Linked DNA regions of Homo sapiens: regions 1 and 2 are each linked to region 3. The links are contacts of gene promoters, found by promoter capture Hi-C in human tissues and cell types (Jung and others, 2019). All regions are on one chromosome and are shown on one strand. Each heading gives the region's core, a stretch centred on a gene start or on the middle of the fragment in contact. The rest is flanking DNA. Distances are from core to core; before and after follow the strand shown. Region 1 overlaps EMP2 (epithelial membrane protein 2). Region 2 overlaps EMP2 (epithelial membrane protein 2). Region 3 holds the start of TVP23A (trans-golgi network vesicle protein 23 homolog A).

Evidence for each region. Contacts are between HindIII fragments. The study calls those that stand out against the background at their distance.
Region 1: a fragment that was not itself captured here is called in contact with the fragment with the promoter of TVP23A in region 3 in 1 of the 25 tissues and cell types used here (thymus).
Region 2: a contact is called between a fragment that was not itself captured here and the fragment with the promoter of TVP23A in region 3, in 2 of the 25 tissues and cell types used here (liver and thymus).

Annotation. Positions count from the first base shown.
Region 1 is chr16:10,549,528-10,553,290 of GRCh38, reverse strand. All of the region lies in intron 1 of EMP2 (epithelial membrane protein 2), which reads left to right. Among named protein-coding and RNA genes, the nearest start is that of LINC01290, 23 kb to the right of the region's middle. RefSeq lists an enhancer at 1-171. The HindIII fragment of the contact is 3,255 bases long and covers 499-3,753 here.
Region 2 is chr16:10,529,517-10,533,535 of GRCh38, reverse strand. It overlaps EMP2 (epithelial membrane protein 2), which reads left to right. Exons shown (of 5, transcript NM_001424.6): 5 at 444-4,019. The coding sequence ends at 631. Among named protein-coding and RNA genes, the nearest start is that of LINC01290, 3.3 kb to the right of the region's middle. The HindIII fragment of the contact is 3,069 bases long and covers 1,082-4,019 here.
Region 3 is chr16:10,816,931-10,820,849 of GRCh38, reverse strand. TVP23A (trans-golgi network vesicle protein 23 homolog A) reads left to right here and starts at 2,056. Exons shown (of 8, transcript NM_001079512.4): 1 at 2,056-2,365; 2 at 2,668-2,747. The coding sequence starts at 2,357. The HindIII fragment of the contact is 21,418 bases long and covers 1-3,919 here.

The sequences.
Region 1 (3,763 bases), core at 877-3,376, 270 kb after region 3:
GAAGGAGGCACAGGAAACTGAGAAGCGTGGTTGCCTCTAAGAGGGCAGTGGCTGACTGGCGTCGGGAATAGTGGCGCAGAAGGGAGACTTATTTTGGTATAGAGATGCAGGAGTAAAGGGTTATTTTTATTCCCTCTTAAACATTCGGGGGATTTCCGCTACTTGTGAATAACTTCCTCCAAAGCCTCGGGTGAAGTCACCAGCAATGTCCTGGGTTCACAAGTCCTAAAATTGAGCTACCGCATTTTGGTTTTTACTGGAGATCTGAATTCCAGATGTCATAGGAGACCTTTACTTCTCTGTTGTTTTTCGGAGTGCCTAATGGTTGAAACCAACCTCTAACTGCCATTTCCTTTACATGTACTAGAAACCTTACTTGACTTCTCTTGAAAACGTATCCCTTTCTCTGTAGAAGCTTGTTCCTGATGTCTGAAATGTCCATCTGAAACCATTCCCAGAGCTTAAAGCAGTACTTCCCAGACATCAGCATTTGACAACCACCCTGAGGATTTCTACTGACACTGAGGACCACCTGTCCTTTTACTTACATAACATTTTCCCTAAATTGTTCACTTTTAAAGCTTCAATAACTTGGTTTTAAAATACTTTATATCACTGCTATACGTGGTGTTTCTTCCTTATAAAAAGAAAGAACGTTAAAAATAAATACAATAAACTCAGAATGATGCTATTAAATTCTAGCTACAAATACATTTTAACCAAAGATCTGTTTTCTCTTTTTGTCAAAAAGAAATTAGCAAGTATTGGAGACTGACTAGCACCAAACTGGGTCTTTTCCTTGGTGAACTCAGTAGGATTGGAATGGGAACTTTTTCACCATGTGGTTCAATGTTGCTTAATGCCCTATCAATGCACTGTCCAAAATCATGCCTTATAACATTTTAATTCCATCCTTTGGGAAAGAATGGGTTAAAACCTTTTTTCTTTTTAATTATTATTTTCTAGAAAGTTTTAGTTACATGTCCATATGCATTTGTGTCATCCCAGCTGGACAACATATGAAGCTATTATCACCCTGGAGTTAATGGCCCTGGTGAAGTTGGCATTTGGGCATTCCTGCTGATGTTAAAGTAACAGGGCATTCAGCGTGGTACATGAGCCCTTTTTCCCCCCAGGGTCAGAAATGCATCTATTAAAAAAAAAAAAAAAAGGGAATGCATCATTTTGGAGGCAGCAGCATATGGTGGCAGCTAAGAATGACGCAGGCCTAAACAAAGGGGAATTTGTCTTTTTTGAAAGAATTAGAAGAATCTCCAAGCTGGTTCATTGGGTCCTTCTAATTGGTGATGCACAGAATCACAGCCAGGACCTCTCAGACTGAGTTCTGCAGCCATACAGCTCCTGGCTCATTGTTAGTGTGTCCTGGGTCTCAAGGAGTGGACCCTGTATGAGCCCATGAGCCTTGATCCATTCCGTGGGGGGATAATGGGGATGAGAATGAGCATGGTTGGAGAGGAGAGCTGGCAGTGAAAAGGTGGAGGGTTTGTGCAGTCAGTGCATGTCCACTAGAGGAGGGGGAATAGTTGGTACCAGAAAAAGGCCTTTTAAAATGATCCTATTTTGCTCTGGGGATGGTGGCTCACGTCTGTAATCCCAGCACTTCGGGAGACCAAGGCAGGCAGATCACATGAGGTCAAGGGTTTGAGACCAGCCTGGCAAACACAGTGAAACTCTGTCTCTACTAAAAATGCAAAAATTAGCCAGGCGTAGTAGCACGTGCCTGTAGTCCCAGCTACTGGGGAGGCTGAGGCAGGAGAATCGCTTGAACCCGGGAGGCAGAGGTTGCAGTGAGCCGAGATTGTGCCACTGCACTCCAGCCTGGGCAACGGAGCAAGACTCTGTCTCAAAAACAAACAAACGAAAATCCTATTTCAGAAATATCAGTGAATGCTTAAACTCTGAGTGAAAGTTTCTTGAGAGAGGATCTTTACATTATCTCAAAATACCTTCCCACACATGCCACATCATGGATGGACCTTTGAAACACTGTGCTAAATGAAAGAAGACAGACACAAAAGGCCACACTATTGTATGATTCCAACGATATGAAATATCTAAAATAGACAAATCCATAGAAACAGAAAGTATATTATTTGTTGCTGGGGGTTGGGGGAAGGGAGAATAGGGAATAACTGCTTAGTGAGTACACAATTTACTTTGGGGGTGATGAAACGTTCTAGAACTGGATAGTGGTGATGGATATACAATATTGGGAATGTAATGTGTCTCATTTACACTAATAGTAAATGTTATGTGTATTTTATCAAATATCACTTCTACAATTTTTTTTTTTTTGAGATGGAATCTCTCTCTGTCACCCAGGCTGGAGTGCAGTGGCGCGTTCTTGGCTCAGTGCAACCTCTGCCTTCTGGGTTCAAGTGATTCTCCTGCCTCAGCCTCCTGAGTACCTGGAATTACAGGTGCCCACCACCACGCCCGGCTAATTTTTGTGTTTTTAGTAGAGACAGGGTTTCACTACGTTGGCCAGGCTGGTCTCGAACTCCAGACCTCAGGTGATCCACCCACCTCGGCCTCCCAAAGTGCCGGGATTACAAGCATGAGGCACCATGCCCAGCCTTACAAAGTATTTTTTAATGACAAAGGGGAAATGTACAGTGAAAGAATCTGGCAGAACACAACCCAGTGATCAAAGTTAGCATCACCAATGATGGGACAAACTGGCATACTGCACCTCCTGGTGGGATCCATTGAGGACACATGGCTCATATGCCATTCCTGCTTAAAAAATATAATCTGGATCGAATCATCAGGAAACATCGAACACAAATTTGAGGGACATTCTACAAAATAAGTGGTCAATATTCTTAAATAATATCAATGTTATGAAAAACAAAGACAGACCTGAGGAAGTATTCCAGATTAAAGGGGACTAAAGAGACCTGAAACGAAAATGCAGTGTATCAGCTTGGATTGGATCCTGGGGCAGGAAAAAGAAAGCCATGTAGAACATTATTGGGTTAATTGGGGAAATTTGACTATGGACTGTAGATATGATAGTTATATTGTATCACGTTAAATTTCTCCATTGTGATCATCATAGTGTGGTTATGTAAGAAAATGTGCAACCAGGTGCGGTGGCTCACGCCTGTAATCCCAGCACTTTGGGAGGCCGAGGCAGGCGGATCACCTGAGGTCAGGAGTTCGAGACCAGCCTGGCCAACATAGTGAAACCCTGTCTGTACTAAAAATACAAAAATTAGCTGGGCGTGGTGACACGTGCCTGTAGTCCCAGCTACTCAGGAGGCTGAGGCAGGAGAATCACTTGAACCTGGGAGGCAGAGGATGCAGTGGGCTGAGATCGCACCACTGTACTCCAGCCTGGGCAACAGAGTGAGACTCTGTCTCAAAAAAAAAAAAAAAAAAAAGAAAAAGAAAAAAAAAGAAAAGAAAAGAAAAGAAAGAAAATGTCCTTGGTTTTTCAGAAATACACACTAAAGCACTTAGTTGTATGGTTTAGGCAACTTACTCTCAAGTGGTTCAGAAAAAGAGAGACAGTGTATGTGTGTGTGTGTGTGTGTGAGTGTGTGTGTGTGCGTGCATTAATCCATTTAAAACTGGGGCTACAATTTCATCCCAGTGAACAGAAGGTCTGATTCGCACTGTACTTCAAAACATGAAACTACAAATTAATTTTTTTCCAAAAAAATGTAGTAACTATCTCGTCACAAATTATTGGAATAAAAGAAGAATGAACCAAGTGTTGATATTAGGAGGCTGCATC
Region 2 (4,019 bases), core at 1,367-3,866, 290 kb after region 3:
CGTCTGTGGACCTCTGGCTTAGACCAATTATGTTCACCCTCTGGGTTGGTGATGTGGCTGCCCAAACAAAACTGGGTTTAGTTAGCAAGAATGGGAAGCAAAATAGCTACAGGGTAGGTGACAATATCCTTCCACAAAATATCAGTTGTAATTTTTCCAATAGACTAAAATAAATACCTATTAATAATAAGAGCTTAAGGCTGCACGCGGTGGCTCACGTCTGTAATCCCAGCACTTTGGGAGGCCGAGGCAGGAGGATTGCTTGAGCTCAGGAGTTCAAGACCAGCCTGGGTGACATGGCAAAATCTTGTCTCTACAACAAAATAATAATAAACAAAGAATAAAAGCTGAAGTTTGTCTTCAACTCTGGCCGTATGCCCCTGGGCTACCCAGGGTGCACTGTGGTCCATGATTTATTGAAAATTCACCTTTCTTCCTGACAGGTCTGTGTGTCATGATTGCGGCCTCCATTTATACAGACAGGCGTGAAGACATTCACGACAAAAACGCGAAATTCTATCCCGTGACCAGAGAAGGCAGCTACGGCTACTCCTACATCCTGGCGTGGGTGGCCTTCGCCTGCACCTTCATCAGCGGCATGATGTACCTGATACTGAGGAAGCGCAAATAGAGTTCCGGAGCTGGGTTGCTTCTGCTGCAGTACAGAATCCACATTCAGATAACCATTTTGTATATAATCATTATTTTTTGAGGTTTTTCTAGCAAACGTATTGTTTCCTTTAAAAGCCAAAAAAAAAAAAAAAAAAAAAAAAAAAAGAAAAAAGAAAAAAAAAATCCAAAAGAGAGAAGAGTTTTTGCATTCTTGAGATCAGAGAATAGACTATGAAGGCTGGTATTCAGAACTGCTGCCCACTCAAAAGTCTCAACAAGACACAAGCAAAAATCCAGCAATGCTCAAATCCAAAAGCACTCGGCAGGACATTTCTTAACCATGGGGCTGTGATGGGAGGAGAGGAGAGGCTGGGAAAGCCGGGTCTCTGGGGACGTGCTTCCTATGGGTTTCAGCTGGCCCAAGCCCCTCCCGAATCTCTCTGCTAGTGGTGGGTGGAAGAGGGTGAGGTGGGGTATAGGAGAAGAATGACAGCTTCCTGAGAGGTTTCACCCAAGTTCCAAGTGAGAAGCAGGTGTAGTCCCTGGCATTCTGTCTGTATCCAAACCAGAGCCCAGCCATCCCTCCGGTATCGGGGTGGGTCAGAAAAAGTCTCACCTCAATTTGCCGACAGTGTCACCTGCTTGCCTTAGGAATGGTCATCCTTAACCTGCGTGCCAGATTTAGACTCGTCTTTAGGCAAAACCTACAGCGCCCCCCCCCTCACCCCAGACCTACAGAATCAGAGTCTTCAAGGGATGGGGCCAGGGAATCTGCATTTCTAACGCGCTCCCTGGGCAACGCTTCAGATGCGTTGAAGTTGGGGACCACGGTGCCTGGGCCAGGTCAGCAGAGCTGCCTCGTAAATGCTGGGGTATCGTCATGTGGAGATGGGGAGGTGAATGCAACCCCCACAGCAGGCCAAAACCTTGGCCTCCATCGCCACAGCTGTCTACATCTAGGGCCCCAAAACTCCATTCCTGAGCCATGTGAACTCATAGACACCTTCAGGGTGTGGGGTACAGCCTCCTTCCCATCTTATCCCAGAAGGCCTCTCCCTTCTTGTCCAGCCCTTCATGCTACACCTGGCTGGCCTCTCACCCCTATTTCTAGAGCCTCAGAGGACCCATCCACCATTCATTCATTCATTCATTCATTCATTCATTCATTCATTCATCAACATAAATCATAACTTGCATGCATGTGCCAGGCACAGGGGATACCCTCTAGAGACAATCTCCTCCTAGGGCTCATGGCCTAGTGGAGGAGACAGATTAAAACTTAATTAGAAAAACTGGCTGGGTACAGTGGCTCATGCTTGTAATCCCAGCACTTTGGGAGGCTGAGGCGGGTGGATCACCTGAGGTCAGGAGTTCAAGACCAGCCTGGCCAAAATGGTAAAACCTGTCTCTACTAAAAATACAAAAATGAGCTGGGCGTGGTGGTGCATGCCTGTAATCCCAGCTATCAGGTGGCTGAGGCAGGAGAATCACTTGAAATGGGAGGTGGAGGTTGCAGTGAGCCGAGACCGTGCCACTGCACTCCAGCCTGGGTGACAGAGTGAGACTCCATCTCAAAAAAAGAAAAAAAAGAAAAGAAACTAATTACACACTGTGATGGAGGCTGCAAAGAACACCACTAAGAATTCAAAATCAGCTGGGTGCGGTGGCTCACACCTGTAATCCCAGCACTTTGGGAGGCTGAGGCAGGTGGATCACAAGGTCAGGAGTTCAAGACCAGCCTGGCCAACATGGTGAAACCCCGTCTCTACCGAAAATACAACAAAATTAGCCCGGTGTGGTGGCAGGTGCCTGTAATCCCAGCTACTTAGGAGGCTGAGGCAGGAGAATCGCTTGAAACTGGGAGGCGGAGGTCGCAGTGAGCCGAGATTCACCACTGCACTCCAGCCCAGGCGACAGTCTGAGACTCCGTCTCAAAAATAAAACGATTCAAAATCGAGGCCTGTGGCATGGTAGGGAGGCTGCTTTACGCGTGCCTATTATTAAATGCTCCTGGAGGCATTTAGGTATTTAGATCAGTCTAAATATAGCTCCATTCAGTTCGTGCAGATGACAGTTATTGGGCAGTACCTGTCTGTGTAACACCCAGAAAACATGTCTGTGGAGGGGCCCATGGTCCCGACAGTAAATGCGGTGAGAGGGTCCCATAGAGCTGGAGTTTTCAAGCTTTAGGGGTTCCCGTGCTGCTTGGGACAGGCTGATTCAGAGGGTCTGGGTGAATGATTTCCAGGTGATTTTAAGACTGTGCTGAGAAATAGGGCTTTTGGGGCCTTGTCCTTCAGGATCAAAGCATGATGCTGTGTGGCAATGCAGACCACCCAGGAACCATCCCAGGAGATAAGCTCTTTGCACCTCATTGTCTTTTTCTGCTTATGTTGGAGCAGGATGCTGGGGGCTGTCCTGGGATGGGGTGTGGGACCTCGTGCTATTTAAATACTTTTGCACTTGACCTTCTGCTGAGTGGAGTGGTGGTTTGCCATCAGCTCAGTTCCAGTGGAGCTGAAGAGACATCTGGTTTGAGTAGTTTTAGGGCCACCATGGATATCTCTTCAATGCAGGATTGGCTCTTTCCATCTGCTCTTTCATTCATTTGTTTTTGACAGATAGTATTAAATGTTTACCATGTTCCAGGCACTGTGTGAGGCTCTGAAAATACAGGGGTGAGCAAATCCAGATATCCTCCCTGCCATCATGAAGTTTGGAGTCTATGAGATAGGACCCCCTCCCTATGGAGAAGCCACCAATGCAGTACAGGGTGACCTGGGGCCAGAGACAGGACAAATGTCACCTCCTGCCTCCATGAGATACTCTCACTAGTCATATTGTGGGCAAGAATGTGGCTTACACCCCTAGGGTTAACAGGATGCTACCCAAGCTCATGGAGGAAGTTGAATCTTAAGTTCCCTTGAAACTTTCTACCTTGGTGGCTTTTCTATAATTTTCTTTTTTCTTTTTCTTTTTTTTTTTTTTTTTTGAGACTGAGTTTTGCTCTTGTTGCCCAGGCTGGAGTGCAGTGGCACCATCTTGGCTCACCGCAACCTCTGCCTCCTGGGTTCAAGTGATTCTCCTGCCTCAGCCTCCCGAGTAGCTGGGATTACAGGCATGTCCCACCATGCCCAGCTAATTTTTGTATTTTTAGTAGAGATGGGGTTTCTCCATGTTGGTCAGGCTGGTTTCGAACTCCCAACCTCAGGTGATCCGCCCACCTCAGCCTTCCAAAGTGCTGGGATTACAGGCATGAGCCACTGCGTCTGGCCTTCTATAATTTTCTGGTAGTCACGATGGAAACAAACAAAACACCTTAGAACCAGAGATCGACCCCCTCAAGCAATACATCAATTCCCTTCACAAGAAACGTCGGGGCTACATGAGTATCTGTGTTGAATGCG
Region 3 (3,919 bases), core at 807-3,306:
GAAAGAAAGAAAGGAAGGAAGGAAGGAGAAAAGAAAAGAAAGGAAGGAAAGAAAGGAAGAAAGAATCTCAGCCCCTGCCCAGACCCCCAGACCCCCAGAACGCTGAGTCAGCATCCAGCTTCTAAGCCAACCCCAGGAGATTCATTTGCAGATTGAGGGGTCAGAAGCACTCATTTAAATCACTGGTTCTTTACCTTGCAGCCCAACACCTGGGAGCTTTAAAAGCACTGGTATAGGGTCCCATCCCCAGAGAGCCTGATTTAATTGGTCCATAACACAATCTGGGCAGTGTGTCTTTTAGAAGCTATCCAAATCGCAGCAGAGTTTGGCAAATATATATACATATACATATATATATATATATATATATATATATATATATATATATATATATACATACACACACACATATATACACATTGTATATATATAAATCTTGGTTCCTGAAGATCGCATAGTAGAGGCTGGGTGCAGTGGTTCATGCCTGTAATCCCAGCTCTTTGGGAGGCCAAGGTGGGTGGATCACCTGCGGTCAGGAGTTGGAGACCAGCCTGGCCAACATGGTGAAACCCCCTCTCTACTAAAAATACAAAATACAAAAATTACCCGGGTTGATGTCAGGCGCCTGTAATACCAGCTACCTGGGAGGCTGAGGCAGGAGAATTGCAGGAACCCGGGAGGCAGGGGTTGCAGTGAGCCGAGATCGCACCATTGCACTCCAGCCTGGGTGACAAGAGGGAAACTCCATCTCAAAAAAAAAAAAAAAGAGAAATGGCATAGGAGAAAGCACTTTCCCTCCACACACACCTGGCAGGCCCTTGTGGGGTCAGCTTAGGGAATTGGGGTGGGGGCGGAGGACAGAAAGCCTGGAACCCAGGCCCAGGATCAGAGATGAGACAGCTCCTGCCTCCACCTCCGCCCATGGAGACCAGCAGTGGGGAAAATGTGTCAGGGGCTTGTGGCCCAGGAGCCCTCTTTGGGGTCACCAGGGGCAGGGGACACGTACCTATTGTCCATGGTGGGAGGGCAAAGGGCAGGGTCACTGGCTTTGGCATCTCGATGCTCAGCCCTCTGTCCGTGGGTGGGGGATCAGGACAGGGAGAGGGCACGCAGGAGAGGAGAGTCACTGTGTCCTGGGCCAGGAAAGACCCTCAGGTGACAAGTTTTCTTTCCTGGGAGGTACCCAGGAAGACTTTCACTTCAAGAAACACTACTATTACTGTCAATAATAGTATTAATACTACTAATAACTTTGCGCTTAATAAGTGCCTGGCACGGCGATGCACGCAGATCTCACTGTGGTTCTGAAGCTGTGGCTATAGCAGCGCCACCCCTTAAAAGGCAGGTGAGGCCGGGTGTGGTGGCTCACTCCTGTAATCCCAACACTTTGGGAGGCTGAGGCAGGAGGATGGCTTGAACCTCGGTGTTCAAGACTAGCCGGGGCGACATAGTGAGACCCTCCTCTCTACAAAAATAAAAATTTAGCTAGGTGTGGTGGTGCAGCCTGTGGTCCCAGCTTTTCGGGAGGCTGAGGCGGGAGGACTGCTTGAGCCCTGGAGTTTGAGGCCACAGTGAGCTACGATGGCACCAGTGCTCTCCAGCCTAGGTGCAGAGAATGTTCCCAACAATCTCTGCACGCAAGAAATTCCCAGGAACCTTGTGAAAAGCAGATTCTCAGGCCCGGCCCGGGGGATGTGGAAGGCCTGGAGTGGGGCCCTAGAATCTGCCTTCCCCACCCCACCCCCCAAAAAAGAACACAGCAGGGCCCATCCTAACTGCATTTTGTCGTGGGGGGTGGGGGCGCGGGGAAGGCAGATTCTAGGGCCCCACTCCAGGCCTTCCACATCCCCCGGGCCGGGCCTGAGAATCTGCTTTTCACAAGGTTCCTGGGAATTTCTTGCGCGCAGAGACTGTTGGGAAACACTGACCTTCTCCCAACCCTGAATGCGGCTGCCCACCACTGACATTCATTCACTGCCTTATCATTCGCTACATCCACGTTTATGCGCCGTCCACACCATTCGCTGACGCAGCCGCCCCCCGCCCCCGACTCCCATTCCTCCCACTATCTCTGTCCGCAGTTCCCCAGGCCGTTGCCTCCCTGCCGCCGCTTTCTCTCCTGGGCGCGTCCCCGGCGAGCCGAGCCCCCTCCCCAGCCTGCGACTGCGCCTTAGGCCCCGAGCGCCCCGCCCCACCCGAGAAGCTGCGCTGAGGCTGCCCCACAGGGCGCAGGCCCCGACCCTCAGCGTCCACCGTCTGCTGCCTACATCCGCCCGCCCGGCGTCCGACCCCTTCAGCGGCGACGGGCGGAGCTGGAGCCCCGGGCCTGGGCGCCAGGTGGGCTCCTGGGAGGGTGATGAAGCAGGTAGGGCCTCGGGGATGCTGGGGCTGGAGGCGGGGCGGGACGAGGGGAGCCTGCGGGAGCGCTGGAGAAGCCGGGAGGAGGAGGAGGGATGCGCCGGGGCCTGGGGCTGGGCTGCACCCGGTGGTCGGGAGGGTGGAGAGGGCTTTGCACTGCAGCCGCAGCGGAGGGGCCCCGCCAGCTCGGAGGGTCCACTTGGGAACCCGGTGGGGTGCAAGTGGAGTCCAAGCCCAGGAGGACAGGGCGGGTGGGGTTGGGGTGTGCGCCGTGCTTGGGCCTGCCACCTGCCCTTGCTCTCCTCCCAGGCCCTGGTGGACGATACCGAGGATGTGTCCCTGGACTTTGGAAACGAGGAGGAGCTGGCCTTTAGGAAAGCCAAGATCAGGTGTGTTGGGATGGAGCTTGGGTCAGGCGTTCCCCAAAGCTGCAAATTCATTCATTTACTCACTCATTCATTCAAAATATATTGAGCACCTACTGTGTGCCAGGTCTGGGGCTGGGGACATATCTGTGGACACATCAGACAAAGTCCCTGCCCTCCTGGAGCCTGCATTGGGAGAGGGAGGAAGAAGGGGTGGAGTTGATGTTGAACAGGCAAGGAGATTAATGAGATAATTGAATGTGAGAAGAAAATCAGCCCTGTGATGAAAGAGAAGGTAACTAGAGAAGGCCACTTGCCTTAGTGCAGCCATGGAGGGCCTCTCTGAGGAGGTGGCATTTGAGCTGAGACCAGAATGATGAGAAGCAGCCAGCCATGGGAGACTCCAGAGGGAGAGTGTTCCAAGCTGAAGGAACAGCAAGCGCAAAGGCCCTGGGGCTATGTTGTAAGATCAGAGAAAGCCACTGAGGCCAGAGGGGAGCAAGCTTGGCAGTGGGCTGGACAAGTGGAAGAGAGCTTGGAGTTTTATTCTAATCCCTGCTGAGTCTAGCTAGACAGACTTGTCCTGGGTCAAGTCACTTAACTGCCTGAGACCTCTAGCATCCCAGAAGGTGGCATGACCAAGGCATGAGGGATGACCTGTGAACGTGGTTGCCGATGGCCCAGGCGGCAGCCACTTCTAGAAACACCCACAGCTCAGCCTCACTCACCCACCCAGTTCTGCTTCCAGCTATCAGAGCCAGTAGGCATGGGACGAGCCCTGGCACCCAAATGCCATTCCTTGTAAAGTCTCTGTTTTTAAAATCAAACTCTCTGATTCAAACCTAATAAACCCCAGAAAGTAATAGACTGTATTAGTTTCCTATGGCCGCTAGAACAAATTACCATTATCATCTTGGCTTAAGACAAAAGAAGTTTATTCTCCTGCAGTTCTGGAGGCCAGAAGTCCACAGTCAGTGTTCCTGGGCTGAAACCAAGGTGGCAGCAGTGCCACACTCCCTTCGGAAGAATTAGGGGAAAATCCATTCTTTGCCTTTTCCAGCTTTTGGTGACTGCTGGCATTCTGTGGCTTGTGGCCTGTTCCTCCGTCTTCAAGGCCAGTGTTATAGCATGTTCACATCTCTCTCTGTTCCATGGTCAGGTGACGTGTGTGTGTGTGTGTGTGTGTGTGTGTGTGT